Regions from separate parts of the Homo sapiens genome. Here region 2 is linked to region 1. The links are contacts of gene promoters, found by promoter capture Hi-C in blood cells and fetal thymus (Javierre and others, 2016). All regions are on one chromosome and are shown on one strand. The core of a region is centred on a gene start or on the middle of the fragment in contact, and the rest is flanking DNA. Distances in the headings are between cores, read along the strand shown. Region 1 holds the start of ANKRD63 (ankyrin repeat domain 63). Region 2 overlaps FSIP1 (fibrous sheath interacting protein 1).

Region 1 (4,593 bases), core at 854-3,353:
CCCACACTTGGAGGGAAAGGAGACTTTGGTAGTTTGTGGGATTATTGTCAGCATCAGTAGGCAGAAAGTGGGGAGGCTGGGTCCTTATTCTCCAAGGTGGACCCTTCTATTTACCTGGCTGCCCAGTTGTTGGGAAACCCAGCGAGGGGAGGGGGGCCGGACAGGAGCGACAGATGGCTAGGCCGACCCAGGATTGAGCCTGAGGGCTGGGGAGGGGGAATCCACCTTCCTGGCTGTAGCCTACGGAACCAGTCAATCGACACCTCTAGACCTAGGCAGGGAATACCGAGGAGCACAAAAAAGAAGATGGAGGTCCCTTATTTCTGGTGGAGGGCTGGTGGAGGTCTCGCCTTGGCAGGGAGGCAGGTTCCAAAATGGACTGCGGGGGGCGGCTGCCGAAAAGGTGAGGGACCTAGAAGAGAGAAATACCAGTGGAGTAGAAACGGGAGGGTAGGGGAAGCAGGCCTCGGGCCTTGGCGCCGTTTACCGCTGAGCACGCAGCACCACAGCCTCGGTGCCCGCCTGCCAAGGGTTCGGCCCAGGCACCGAGACAGACAGAGCGTTGGCCTCTAACTCCGGGCCACTCTCGGGCCCTGGCGCCTCCCCGACCAGGCTGGGGATATCTGGGGCTGTGGAGCGTCGGCGCAAACCCAGGCGGCCAGAGCCGGGGCCGCCCTCCGGGTGGGGACTGAGGCCAATGGGGGCTTGCGCTAAGGTTGGGGGCGCTCCCTCCAGCACCTCCTGTGAGCGCCACCGCCCAGTCCCCGAAGACTGGGGCGAGTTTGGTAGGGCCATCAGGGCCCCAGCCCGCAGGCGGGCAGCCTCCTCCTCGGTTACCGCACCTAGAGCCAGGCTCATGCTCCGACCCAGCTCGGGCCGTTCGCTGCCCTGCGCCCGGTGCCGGCCCGAATTCTTGCCCGCTGAGCCAGCCTCGCCGCCGTGGCCGCCCGCCGCTCGCGCAAAGCGCGCCAGGAGAGGCCGCGGGAGGCGGCGGGGGCTGGGTCGTCGATGCTCGGGGCTGGCCGCGGGGGCCGGGCGGCCAGGGGGACTATCGGAGTTGGAGCCCCGGGCCGCAGCGGCGGCGGCGGCGCGGCCCCAGGGCCCGGTGAGGGCCTGCACACAGGTCCCGTGGCCGCGGGCGGCGGCCAGTTGCAGCGCGGTGAGCCCCGCACGGTTGGTGCGGTCGAGGCGCAGGCCTAGGCGGCGGAAGGACCGCACCAGGAACTCGAGCACCGCCCCGTGGCCGCAGGCCGCCGCCCACATCACCGGGCTGTTGCCCGCAGAGTCGGCCGCCTCGGGGTCACCGCTGAACTGCACCAGCAGCTGCACGGCGTCCAGGTGGCCTCGCTCGCACGCCAGGCTGAGTGCGGTGCGGCCGCGCTCGTCTCGCAGGTTCACTGCAGCACCCTGCTCGAGCAGCAGCCGCACGAAGCGCGCGCGCAGCGCGGGGTCCGGCAGCCCCACGGCCACCATGAGCGGCGTACGGCCCTGCTCCGCGCGGCAGTCGATGATGCTGCGGTCCAGCGCATCCAACACGAAGCGGGCCAAGTGCACTTTGCCCGCCTGCATGGCCTCCAGGAAGGTGCGCGTCCCCGCTCGGGGGCACAGGTCCTTGGGTTTGAGCATGGCCCCGGCCGCCGCGCCCGGGCAGCCTGGCAGTTCCGCACGGGGGCGCCCCTGTTCTCGCGCCCCGCGGGGCTCCGGCCTCCGCCCGCGCTCTGATACCTCTCCCTCCGCGCGTGGGCGGCTGCAGCCGAGGGTCCCGAGGTTCCTACTCCGCTGTCCCGGAGGCTCCGACTGCCCCGCCGCTCCTGGGCCGCACGCCTGGCGTGTCGCCGCTCCTTCCCCGGGCCTCCCGCCTGGAGGTGTTGATTGCTCGCTACTCCGGGCTCCGCTCCTGGCCCGCCACCAGACGTCGGGAGCAGAGACTCGACCCTCTCCCGAGTCTCTCGCCGCTTTCCCGGTGTCCGGCGCCCCTCAGTCCTCGTGGTTTGGAGCCGCCGTGCCACTCACCCGCACCCAGGGCAGCCCCCGCTCCCCCGCAGCGACGGTGGCGCCCGCCGTGCACGCCTGCCTCCAGCCCTGGCGGGGCGCGCCGCTCCTCAAGCTGCTGGCGCCGTTCCTCCGCCTCCTCCCCTCTCGCGGGGGCCGGGCCACGCCAGGGCGCTTGCTCCTTACTTGGGGGGCTCAGCGGCGCGGGAGCTGCCGCCCGCCTAGATACCTGACTTTATAGCCTTGGGGGTCTCCATGGCAATGGCTGTCCTGGGAGCGGACTGCGCCGTCAGGGCAGAGACGGACGGGGCGGGGGAGACCGCTCCTGACCCCCACCCCTTCGTGGGCCACGAAGTAGGGGAGCGGTTCCTCCTCCGCGCTCCCCTGGGAATGCGGCGGCGGTTGCGGGGCGGGGGCGGGGGCTGCTCGCCGGGGGCCACATGCACCCAACCGGGCCAATCCCAAAGTCGCAGTCTTCTCTCCCCGCCCTCCGCCCCCAACCGAGTCGGTGCCCTCGGCTCCTTAGAAACTGGCGGGACCTCGGCCTCGTCGGGGAAGACTGAAAGCTGCCCCCATCGGTCCAGGGTGAAAGGAATTGGGACCCCATGAGCGCAGAACTGGACCACGCGCGAGCTAGGGGTGGCAGCGAAAGGCGGATGAGGAGTAATTTGGGGGAGGGGGTATACGTGCCGCGGATTGGGGGCGCTCAGCCTGGCTGGGAACTGCCACTCGAAGTGCAGAGAATCACGCACTCACACACAATTGTTCCACCCGCACACGCTCCCTGGGAACGAGGGGTGGGGTCCGAGTGCGCTCTCCAATTTCAGACGTCTCCAACCCCGACAACGCGCCCGCGTGCCAGCTCCTGGTGGCTGCCTAGCGGGCAGAGTGTAGACGCCCAGACCAGGGAGGGGCTCCTTAGGACCCGGGAGTGCCGCGGACATGTTAAAAGTTCCCTGGCGCCGCCACCCTGGAAAGAGCTAGGGACCCACTCGAGGTTCCCTGCCCCTCGCTTCTCCCTTGAGCACAAAACAACCCCCAGGCCACAGGGCTCTGGCTCTGACCACTGGCTGACCCCTAAAGAGAGGAGGCGAGCACAAGTTCCATTTTCCGTAAGATGCTTGGAGAAACCACTGCATCTCCTCTCCCTCCGGCCAGCAGGTCCCCCTCGGTCCTGGAGGAGGGGGGATGATACACAGGCCTGGGCGGAGCAGAGTTAGGGCGCCTCAGAGCCTGGGTGTGGGTGGTGGGGAGGGTGTGAGTAGGGTTGGAATGGATATTTGTAAAGTAAGGAGTAAAGCAGTTATCAGCTGCAGAATTTACTGAGACTTTTCATGAGCCGCACATTTTGTTGCCGGCAGCGGGTAAGAGAGAGACAGAATCTCGGTTCTGGGTGCGAGACGTTCCACCTCTTAAGAAGACAACACTGGGACTTAAAAAATGGACGTTGTCACCTGAGGGCTGAATTCTTCTGCTAAATACGTACCAACACAGTCCTTGGATGAAAAGATGGAGTTGTGGGCAGGAGAGGGCTCTCGGGCCTTTTAAAGATAGGCCTTCAAGGATGTGCGGGATCTGGCTGCAAAAGAAAGAAGGAAGGAATCCCAGGCCGGGTGCAGTGGCTCACGCCTGTAATCCCAGCACTTTGGGAGGCCGAGGCGGGCGGATCACGAGATCAAGGGATCGAGACCATCCTGGCCAACATGGTGAAACCCCGTCTCTACTAAAAATACAAAAATTAGCTGGGCGCGGTGGCACGCGCCTGTAGTCCCTGCTACTTGGGAGGCTGACGCAGGAGAATTGCTTGAACCTGGGAGGCAGAGGTTGCAGTGAGCCGAGATCACGCCACTGCACTCCAGCCTGGAGACAGAGTGAGACTCCGTCAAAAAAAAAAAAAAAAAAAAAAAAAAAAGGAAGTAATTCCAGACGGGTTCTGGAGGCAAAGGCTTGGAAGCAGGATAAACCTTCAGGGGACACTATTGAGGGCTGCTTTAAGGGGTCCCTTCCTATCAGAGACAGGAAATAAGGGAAGAATGATGGTGTTCTCAGTCTGAGCAGATGCTTTGGAGTAGGAGATGCCTGGGGAAAGGTACTGGGCATAGATAGGCGTGGCAAAGTGGGCTCATGGCCCTGCACCCTGAACCCCTTGCCTCTCTCCAGCTCCCAGGCTCCGGGGATGTCCACCTTGAATTTGGCACCCAGGCCATGGAGCAGAGGCTCCCACTCCCCTCTGTCACGTGAGGAGCGTGTGATGTGTACCTGCATCCACTACGAAGCCCCCCTTTTCTCTTTTTGCATTTGTTAAGCCTTTGGTCAGGGATCTGCCAATTTTCTTTCCTGGTGTCATGAAAAGGCCACAGATCTGACATCAGCGTTAAGTCCCAGCTTGAAGGCATTTACTAGCAGTGTGGCTCCAAGCCTGCATATTCTCAGCTGCAAAATGAGACTGATAAATACCAGCCCTGCCTGCTTTACACAAGAACAAGTTAGAAAGTGTCAGGGAAAGAGCTGCATAGTTATTTCATTTTTTTTATTTTGTTTTGTTTTGTTTTCTAGAGCTGCATAGTTATTTAGAGTGCAGCCCTCAAAGCTGCTCCCGCC
Region 2 (4,284 bases), core at 918-3,417, 600 kb before region 1:
AAAAAAAAACTCTCAGCAAATTAGGAATAGAAGGGACCTTCTTCATTCTGATAACACCTACGTCTAACATAATACTTAATGGTGAAAGATTGAATGCTTTCCCCCTAAGACCAGAAACAAGGCAAAAATGTCCACTCCCACCACACCTACTTGACATTGTACTAGAAGTTCTAGCCAATGCAAGAAAAAAACTCAAGGAAAAGAAATAAAAGGCATGCAGATTTGAAATAAATTAAGTTGTTCCTATTCACAGACAACATGACTGGCTATGGAGAAAATCCCAAGGAATCAAGGGGAAAATAATTTCTAGAACTAATAAGTCATTTTAGCAAGTTCACAGGATAAAGTTCAACACAAAAATTAACCATTTTTCTATATATACACTTCTTGTATACATAGAAACCAAAAGAAAAAACACACATATTAGAAACCAAGAAAAAATACCACTTACAGTGTTACAATTTATACTTAAGTACAGGTCTCAAAAAGCACATACAGGATCTACATGCTGAAGATGACAAAATGCTGCTGAAAGAAATGAAAGAAGACTAAATAAATACAGAGGCATACCATGTTGATGAATTGGACAATTCGGCATAATAAAGCCATCTGTTCTCACCAAACTTATCTATAAATTTATGCAATCCCAATAAAAATCCCAGCATGATTTTCTGTAGGTACAGACAAGCTGATTCTAAAATTTATATGAAAAGACAGAAGAACTGGAATAACCAAAACAATTTTGATAAAGGAAAAATAAGATTGGAAAAATCATATAAGCTGATTTTAAAATTTAATATAAAGCAACAGCAATAAAGACAGTGTGGTATTGGCAAAGGAACAGACACATGTGTGTCTGAAATTTTTCATCATAAACAATTTTTAAAAATAAAATTTAAAATAAACCAAATATAAGGAATCTGGAAAGGTCACTGAGGCACATGCGGAACATTATTAAAAGGCTGGAGAACAGACACTACAGCTGTGATTCCTGCCTGTCTCATTCGCTCACTCAAACTCAATGCTTGGCATAGAGCACATAGTCCATAAATAGCTGCTCAATGAATAAAAAGTGAATGACGCACCAAGGGAAATCTTACTCTTTTTCCTTAACCCTATAGAAGGAAATAGCACCAAGAATCCTAATGAATTGATCTCCTTAATTGAAAACCAAATAGAGAAAGCTGCTTTAAAAATAAATTTTATTTTAGAATGTCAAATCCTAAAATAGAATGTCTTTTCCTAAATACCCCAGCCTACACTGCTTTCTCTTTTATGAACTCCTCTAGTAAGTGGCCTTAACATTTCTTAATCAAATACAGTGTTAAACTGTCCTCCTGTGTGTGGTGCCTGGGCTTTACCATGTGGTGAGGATGGAAATAGCTGACTTGTATTGATGGAGTTCCTGCCATATATCCTGACACTGTTCTAAGTGCTTTCCACTCAACCCTGCAAAGCAAGTTATTAGTATCCCCTCTCCCAGATGAAGAAACTGGGGCATAGAGGGTCAAGTAACTTCTCCAAGGTCACACAGCTAGTCCAGGGCAGAGCAGGGACTCAAACACAGGCAATCTGGCTCCGTACTTGCCTCAGTACTGCCTCTTCTGAGGACCTTGAGAACCCAGACTCCTACAAATCACACTATTTTTGTGTATTTTTCTCAGCAATGTCCACCTAGGACAAGGTTGGGTATGCAGCACATACTTTAAAATCTAAATGACTGGTGTGCTATCTGGGCTGCATTTGCAAATTCCAAGAGCATCTTTAGGGAAAGTTTTTAGTTAAAGTTTGTGTTGTTCTGAAGAGCCCTCCTGAACTTTCTATAATGTTTTAGTTAATTCCACCATGAGGATTTCCATGACAAAAAAAAATTGTTCATGTGTGATAAAGATAAAATGTTAGTACTTACCAGATGTTAAGTTTTTAATGTAAATATTGCCCAAAATAGATACCAAAACAAGACTAGCAAAGTAAAAATCCTCCTGGGGAAAATTATTTTATATCTCAGTGAAAGTCCTTTCCTATAAATCCCCCCGCCATCCCCAACAAACACACATAGAAAGCCTTTGATGGCAAAGGAAACCTCAAAGATGTCTTGCACTGAGAAAACAAAACATACAACACCCTCCAGGAATTCTGGTCCTTCTTAAGATCTCTATCACTAATTGTTTTGGAAAACCTCAATACAAGTATATGTTTCAATTCTGGGTTACATGTAGTTTAAGGGTAAAGAAAAGAAATGACTGTAGTCAGCCATCCATTGCCATCTCTCTAATGAGGTATGTGCTTACTGAACACATCTCATCTGAAAAAAAAATTTTTATACAAAAGATGAGTTTTTCTATTGATCTTTTTTCTTCTACAGCATTCTACTAAAGAGAGATTAATCCCAAAACAACAAGAAAGGCCTTTAATGAAACCTCACAGCAGCTGGCCATCACCCAGGCTTTAGCTGTGTCCCACGATACACTCCAGACATTCTGCATGCTCTCTGTACATTACATGTCAGACCATTCCAATGGAATGGGAAACTATGATTACACTATAATTTTAACATTTAACCCAAGTTTTTGCTGACATAATTAGCTAAAAATATTAGCAAAAAGGGTAACAAGAGCTGTCCAGTTAACAAAACTAATTTCAAATAACAAATTTGGAGGATGATAATTTCAGTGACCACAAAGTAAAAGTAAAAACTTTATCCTATCAAGGACAGCAATAGGCTAACCGAATTCACCACCTATAAGGGGATTCTCTAGGAAACCCACCACGGGTACCCAATTTCCACTGGCAAGAAAGAGAACACAGACGTGATTATGTGACCACTAGGTGGCACCTTCACACTGCTTCATCTCAAAACCATATTTCCACCTCCACTATGGCCTTCCCAAAGTATTAGCAGTATAAAATTCAAACCCAGGTGCCTCACTTTAACAAAAAATAAATTTAAAAAATGAGAAAATACATTTTCAATTAAAAACTTTTCCCATTAATTTCTACATCTAAGGCTTTGGTGTATAATCACAGAAGAATATCTCACCAAACTGTCAATATAAATTGGTATTCTGACTTTATCGCCCCTTGGCAATGCATTGTTCCAGTATTACAATGTAGAACTGAGATAAATTTGTAGCTTCAACTATATGTGTAACTGAATTAAAATAATTTCAAAAGCCCTGTGAGCAAAGGCTGTGACTAACTGAAAAAACAAATGGTGGCCTCTAATACTTCTTGAGTCCCAGCCTATGACGGCAAGTGTCAAGTAATCCTGCAGACTGGGTAGAATGTATATCATTTCTTCATCCCTTTCAAATAAATATATTGAAGTTTTAAAAGATTTTTTAAAACAGGTCTAGATTATGACCTTGTAGGATCTACAAACAATTAGCAAATTCCTCAAGACTTGGGTGACATTATTAGATTCAAAGGGAAAGTCTGAGTAATGGGCATTTCCCTTATTTGGAATTATGTTTTATGTTTTGTTTGTTGTTGGCAGGAGAATGGGGCAGACAGTTCTGCCTACTTGTCTGTATCTATTTGCAAAATATCATCCCAGTTTCAGGTAGCTACAAATGGCTGGGTCCCAAGTAAACCTTTTAAATGTGAGGTTTCTCCTTGGCAATCTCAATCTCTCCTTTTCTCTCCAATCTGTGTCCTTCCCTGCTTTGCAGCCTCTTACTCAATAACACTCCTGCTTTTGACACCCAATGCCCTTTCACCTTTCTTTCTTTCTTTTCTTTTCCTTTTTTTTTTTTTTTTTTTTTTTTTTTTGAGACAGAGTTTTGCTCTTGTTGCCCAGGCTGGAGTGGGAGTGCAATAGCGTGATCTTGGCTCAGTGCAACCTCTGCCTCCTGGGTTCAAGCAATTCTCCTGCTTCAGCCTCCCAAGTAGCTAAGATTACAGGCATGTGCCACCACACCCAGCTAATTTTGTATTTTTAGTAGAAATGGGGTTTCACCATGTTGGCCAGGCTGGTCTCAAACTCCTGCCCTCAGGTGATCCACCCGCCTTGGCCTCCCAAAGTCTTGGGATTACAGGCGTGAGCCACCGCACCCAGCTTTCACCTTTCTAAACTGACTGAGGCAAGCGTCTAGAATCAGCCATTTCTATTCTAAGGTAAACATGAGCCAGTCACTTGCAGAGTTGGTCCCTACCTCCCATCTGGTTCCCTGGCACTTTGTATCCACCTCTTTTTCAGGCCTGAATACCTCACATTGTAACTCTCTGTCTACATGAGGGCCTCCTCTACCAAGCTAAAAGTTTGTCAAGAAAGAAGACCAGGTC

The links. Contacts are between HindIII fragments. The CHiCAGO score rates a contact against its expected background, and 5 or more counts as called.
Region 2: a contact is called between a fragment that was not itself captured here and the fragment with the promoter of ANKRD63 in region 1, in 7 of 17 cell types (naive CD4 T cells, total CD4 T cells, naive CD8 T cells and 4 more). The highest score is 10.9, in naive CD4 T cells.

Annotation. Positions count from the first base shown.
Region 1 is chr15:40,280,961-40,285,553 of GRCh38, forward strand. It overlaps ANKRD63 (ankyrin repeat domain 63), which reads right to left and starts at 2,104. Exons shown (of 1, transcript NM_001190479.3): 1 at 1-2,104. The coding sequence starts at 1,626. The coding sequence ends at 484. It also overlaps a transcript of PLCB2 not described here. RefSeq lists silencers at 1,586-1,855, 1,866-1,925, 1,996-2,065. The HindIII fragment of the contact is 15,046 bases long and covers 1-4,593 here.
Region 2 is chr15:39,683,395-39,687,678 of GRCh38, forward strand. All of the region lies in intron 10 of FSIP1 (fibrous sheath interacting protein 1), which reads right to left. Among named protein-coding and RNA genes, the nearest start is that of FSIP1, 97 kb to the right of the region's middle. The HindIII fragment of the contact is 7,515 bases long and covers 1-4,284 here.